2 separate regions of the Homo sapiens genome follow, and region 1 is linked to region 2. The links are contacts of gene promoters, found by promoter capture Hi-C in blood cells and fetal thymus (Javierre and others, 2016). All regions are on one chromosome and are shown on one strand. The core of a region is centred on a gene start or on the middle of the fragment in contact, and the rest is flanking DNA. Distances in the headings are between cores, read along the strand shown.

Evidence for each region. Contacts are between HindIII fragments. The CHiCAGO score rates a contact against its expected background, and 5 or more counts as called.
Region 1: a fragment that was not itself captured here is called in contact with the fragment with the promoter of INSL3 in region 2 in 1 of 17 cell types (M0 macrophages); the score reaches 5.4 in M0 macrophages.

The regions. Positions count from the first base shown.
Region 1 is chr19:17,631,013-17,633,903 of GRCh38, forward strand. It overlaps UNC13A (unc-13 homolog A), which reads right to left. Exons shown (of 44, transcript NM_001080421.3): 27 at 2,096-2,181; 28 at 1,770-1,896. Among named protein-coding and RNA genes, the nearest start is that of UNC13A, 56 kb to the right of the region's middle. The HindIII fragment of the contact is 8,105 bases long and covers 1-2,891 here.
Region 2 is chr19:17,820,269-17,823,435 of GRCh38, forward strand. INSL3 (insulin like 3) reads right to left here and starts at 1,251. Exons shown (of 2, transcript NM_005543.4): 1 at 1,049-1,251. The coding sequence starts at 1,238. The HindIII fragment of the contact is 12,026 bases long and covers 1-3,167 here.

The DNA of each region.
Region 1 (2,891 bases), core at 39-2,538, 190 kb before region 2:
AGTGGGTTTATTCTCTGAGTCCTCTCTGAGTCCTCCGTCCATCCTTCCCTCCCTCCCTCCCTCCTTCCTTCCTTCCTTCCTTCCTTCCTTCTTCAGATAAACTGCCCATGGCAAGTGGGTTTATTCTCTGAGCTCTTGTTTTCTCCCTCCCTCCCTCCCTCCCTCCTTTCCTTCCTTCCCTCCCTCCCTCCCTTCCTTCCTTCCTTCCTTCTTCCTTCCTTCCTTCCTTCCTGGGTCTTGTTCTGTTGCCCAGGCTAAAGTGCAGTGGTGCGATCACAGCTCACTGCAGCCTTGACCTGCTGGGTTCAAGCAATCCTCCCACCTCAGCTTCCCGAATAGCTGGCACTACAGGCACATGCCACCATGCCCGGCTAATTTTTTTTTTTGTCTTCTTTGTAGAGACAGGATTTCCCTGTGTTGCCCAGGCAGGCCTTGAACTCCTGGCCTCAAGTGATCCTCCCACCTTGGCCTCCCAAAATGTTGGGATTACAGGAATGAGCCACCGCATCCAGCCAGAGCTTTCGTTTCTTGTACAACAGAAGACTAGCCATCCTCCTGTGCTGCTGGGAGCAGAGAACGACACCACAATTCTCAGGAACCGGCGGCACCGTACTATCCTCCAACACACAGCCCAGGAATCAGATGTCCCGAGTTCAAATCTCGGGTCTGTCATGTACTGGGAGTCACCGTGGGCAAGGAATGTGGCATTTATTCACTCATTCATTTTATTTTTATATTTATTTATTTTTTGAAATGGAGTCTCACTCTGTCGCCCAGGCTGGAGTGCAGTGACACGATTTCCGCTTACTGCAACCTCTGCCTCCTGAGTTCAAGCGATCCTCCTGCTTCGGCCTCCCGAGTAGCTGGGACTACAGGTGTGTGCCATCACACCCGGATAATTTTTTTCTTTGTTTTTGAGACGGAGTCTCACTTTGTTGCCCCAGCTGGAATCCAGTGGTGCAATCTCGGCTCACTGCAACCTCCGCCTCCTGGGTTCAAGCAATTCTCATGCCTCAGCCTCCCAAGTAGCTGGGATTACAGGCATCTGCCACCACACCTGGCTAATTTTTGTATTTTTAGTAGAGACAGGGTCTCACCATGTTGGCCAGGCCGGTCTCAAACTCCTGACCTCTGGTGATCCACCCACCTTGGCCTCCCAAAGTGCTGAGATTACAGGCATGAGCCACTGCGCCCGGCCAATTTTTGTATTTTTGTAGAGCTGGGGTTTCGCCCTATTGGCTATGCTGGTCTCGAACTCCTGACCTCAGGTGATCTGCCCACTTCGGCCTCCCAAAGTCCTGGGATTACAGGCACAAGCCACTGTGCCTGACCCATTCATTAATTTTAGAGATGGGATCTGACTATCTTTTCCAGGCTGGTCTCGAACTCCTGGGCTCAAGCAAGTCCTGCCTCAGTCTCCCAGATTGCCGGGGCTACAGGCATGTGCCACCATGCCTGGCCATTTGGCATCTTTAACTCTCCAATTTCTCCTCCGCAAAATAGGAATTAAAATGATCCCACCTTAACTCATAGAATTGTCAAAAGGATAAAATGAGAAAGTCACATGGTTCCTGTTGCTGTTGACTGAATTTTCTGGGCTGTAGGAGTCAACTGCTCAATGGCTGAGAGTGGAGAACACTGGATTCAAGCCCCACCCATGCCCCTGATGCCCAGGTAACCCTAAGTAGGTCAGTCTTCCTCTCTGGCTTTCCTTCTAGCTGTCAGTGCTACAGTTCTGGCTTGGGTTGGGCCTGGGGCAGGGGACTTACGCAGGGTACTCAGGCACGCGGTCCTTGAAGGCGGGAAGTTCCGTCACATACTCATTGTAGAGCCATTTCACCTTGAAGTGGAGGTTCATGTAGTCGGCACTCTTGCATAGACGATGCTTGTCGTGCTCTGGCCAGGGACAAAGAGGATGGCACAGCTGGAAGGGTCTGCCACCCTCTGTCTCGGCAGAGAGGCTGCCTACTCTGGCCATCACTGATTTCCAACTCAGGCATGAGGGTATTATAGGGTGCTCACAGCCTTGGAGGGGACACAGAGGTACAGCCACCTGGTGTGGCCAGGCTGGGGAACACTGGGGTGGGAAACTCACCCTCCATGGCGTACTTCATGTCTTGGGCAAACAGATTCCACATCACTTCAGCGCTGATTTTACCCACATTCAGCTCCTGGGGAAACCTGGCAAAGTCATGGAAGTATAAAACTTTGGCAGGCAGAAGGCAGATGGGATGGGCTGCTTTGTCCTTCCCTGCCCCACAGAGGAGTGTAGGGTAGGGTAGAGGGATTTGGGTTCAGGTTCCCTCATAGCCACTGCTGACTGACTCTGCACTAAGGCTTTGTTTCCCTTTGAGCCTCCACCCACTCATCCATTTGTCCCTCCATTCATTCATTCATCCACTCATGCAACTATCCACCCATACATTCAACAACTCATTTATCTATTCCTCCATCCATTCATCCATCCTTCCATCCATTCATTCACCCACTCATGCAACTGTCCACCCATCCATGTACCCATCTATCTATTCATCCATCCACCCATTATCCACCCATCCAACCATCCCTTCATCAATTCATTCACCCACTCATGCAACTATCTATCCCTCCACCTACCCATCTATCTATTCATCCATCCACCCATCCATCCATCCCTCTATCCATTCATTCACCTACTTATGCAACTATCCACCCATTCATTCACCTATCCATCTATCTATTTATCCATCCATCCCTCCATCCACTCATTCACTCATTCATCCAACTATTCATCCATCCACTCAACCACCCATCTATCTGTTCATCCATCTATCCCTCTACCCATTCATCCAACTATCCATCCATCCACCTACCCATCTATCTATTCATCTATCCACCCATCCATCCATCCA
Region 2 (3,167 bases), core at 1-2,500:
GCGAGGCTATGTCTCAAAATAAATAAATAAAAATAAAATAATAAAATAAAGTAACATAATTGTGAAAAGCAATACTTTTCAAAAGCAATACTTTTAAATACTTTTAAAGCTGGACACAGTGACTCACATCGCTAATCCCAACACTTTGGAAGGTCAAGGTGGGAGGATTACTTGAGCTCAGGAGTTTGAGACCAGCCTGGGAAACAGAGTGAGACTCCCTCTCTACGAAAAAGAAAAAAAAATTAGCTGGGTGTGGTGGCAGCACCTGTATCCCAGCCACTCCAGAGGCTGAGGCAGGAGGATGGTTTGAGCCCAGGAGGTTGAGCCTGCAGTGAGCCGAGATCTCACCACTGCACTCCAGCCTGGGCGTCAGAGTGAGACCCTGTCTCAAAAAACAAACAAACAAAGCAAAATTAAGGCAAAAATTCATGAAGATCAAAATATTGAAATTTTAAGACAGGATCTCACCATGTACTTGCAAGAGCCTACCTCTCCTGCCTCACTCTGTTTCTGGCCCCTCAGGGGGACTCATGCTCTGAGGACTTTCTTTTTTTTTTTTTTTTGAGACGGAGTTTCACTCTGTCGCCCAGGCTGGAGTGCAATGGCATGATATCGGCCCACTGCAACCTCTGCCTTCCGGGTTCAAGCGATTCTCCTGCCTTGGCCTCCCAAGTAGCTGGGATTACAGATGTGCATCATTATCCCCGGCTAATTTTTTTAAAAATTATTTTTAGTAGAGATGGGGTTTCACCATTTTGGCCAGGCTGGTCTCGAACTCCTGACCTCTGGGGATCCACCCGCCTCAGCCTCCCAAAGTGCTGGGATTGCAGGCGTGAGCCACCACGCCTGGCTAACGGCTCTGGGGACTTTCACACGCGCGTTCACACACACTCCAGTGCGGACCCACGATCTGTGCACGCAGCCGGCAGGTGAGCCCTGGGCACATGCATGCAAACCTGCCCACCTCCCTGCACGTGTGCATCTGCGCCTACGTGCACCTGCCCCACCTCGGCTTCCCAGAGCGCTGTCCCTGCCCGTCCCCACTCACGGTCGCCTCCGGTCGCAGGCCTCCTGGCTTCGGTGGACCAGCGGGGGCCCCCGCACACGCGCACTAGCGCGCGTACGAAGTGGTGGCCGCACAACTTCTCACGCATCTCTGGGGTGGGCGCGGGGCCCAACGCGAACACCAGGGCAGGGCCCAGCAGCACCAGCGCCCAGGCGGGCAGACGGGGGTCCATGGTGGTGGGTGGCGCCGGGGCCAAGCGGGGACCCCCTTTATAGGCGCCTGGGCCGTCCCAGCTGGGGGCCTTGGAGAAGGGACAGAACATTCTTCAGGACCGCCCAGGAAAAAGGTCAAGGGTGGGGTTAGTGCCAGAGCCTTTCTCCCAGGGCCAGGGCCTTGGATGTACTTCTCCCAGAGGGAGCACTGGGCAACGAGTCTTTCTTTTTTATTTTTTTCTTCTTTTTTTTTGAGATGGAGTCTCACTCTGTCACCCAGGTTGGAGTGCAGTGACTTGATCTCGGCTCACTGCAACTTCTGACACCCGGGTTCAAGCGATTCTCCTGCCTCAGCCTCCTGAGTAGCTGGGATTACAGGTGCGCACCACTATGCCTGGCTAATTTTTTTTTTTTTATTTTTTATTTTTAGTAGAGACTGGGGTTCGCCATGTTGGCCAGGCTGGTCTCCAACTCCTGACCTCAAGCGATCCATCTGCCTCGGCCTCCCAAAATGCTGGGATTACAGGCATGAGCTGTGCCTGGACTATTATTATTTTTATTATTATTATTGAGACAAAGTCTTGCTCTGTCTTCCAGGCTGGAGTGCAGTGATGCGATCTCGGCTCACTGCAACCTCCACCTCCTGGGTTCAAGTGATTCTCCCACCTCAGCCTCCCAAGTAGCTGGGATTACAGGTGTAAGCCACCACGCCCAGCCACCTATTTTTATTTTTTATTTTTGAGATGAGTTCTTGCTCTGTTACCCTGGCTGGAGTGCAGTGGCACGATATGGGCTCACTGCCACCTCCCTATCCCTGACTCAAGCAATTCTCCCACCTCAGCCTCCTGAGTAGCTGGGACTACAGGCCCACGCCACCACACCCGGCTAATTTTTTGTATTTTTTTTGTAGAGATGGGGTTTTGCCATGTTGCCCAGGCTGGTCTCAAACTCCTGGACTCAAGTCATCTTCCCGCCTCAGCCTCCCAAAGTCCTGGGATCACAGGCGAGAGCGACCACACCAGGGTATTTATTCATTTTTGACATAGGATCTCTCTGGGTTGGCCTGTAATGGCAGGATCATAGCTCACTGTAACCTCATTCCCCTGGGCTCAAGCGATCCTTCAGCCTCTGCCTCCTGAGTAGCTGGGACTACAGGCCTGCAATACAATGCCCAGCTAATTTTTAATTTTTTAATTTTTATTTTTATCTTTTTAGACAGAGTCTTACTCTGTCACCCAGGCTGGAGTACAGTGGTGCGATCTCGACTCACTGCAACCTTTGCTTCCTGGGTTCAAGCGATTCTCCTGCCTCAGCCTCCTGAGTAGCTGGGATTACAGGTGCCCACCACCAAGCCTGGCTAATTTTTGTATTTTTTAGCAGAGACGGGGTTTCACCATGTTGGCCAGGCTGATCTCAAACTCCTGACCTCAAGTGATCCACCCGCCTCGGCCTCCCAAAGTGCTGGGATTACAGGCGTGCACCAACGCGCCCGGCCATTTTTAATTTTTTAATTGTAGAGGCAGGGGTCTTGCTATGTTGCCCAGGCTCATCTAGAACTCAAGTGGTTCTCCCTACTCGGCCTTCCAAAATGCTGGGATTACAGGTGTGAGGCACCACACACGGCCAAGTCTTCGCTATTGTCTTAACCAGTTTAAAGAGATGAAATAGATCAACTGAAAAGTAATAATCCTGCCTTTTCTGGGGGGCAGGGGGGAAGACAGCGGGCATCTTCCAAGACCAGAAATGTTCAGAATTTTGTTGTTTCTATTACTGTACAAATGAGAAAACTGAGGCACACAGGCCAGGTGCAGTGGCTCATGCCTGTAATGCAAGCACTTTGGGAAGATGGGGCAGGTGGATCACTTGAGGTCAAGAGTTCGAGACCAGCCTGCCCAATATGGTGAAACTCTGTCTCTACTAAAAATACAAAAATTAGCCAGATGTGGTGG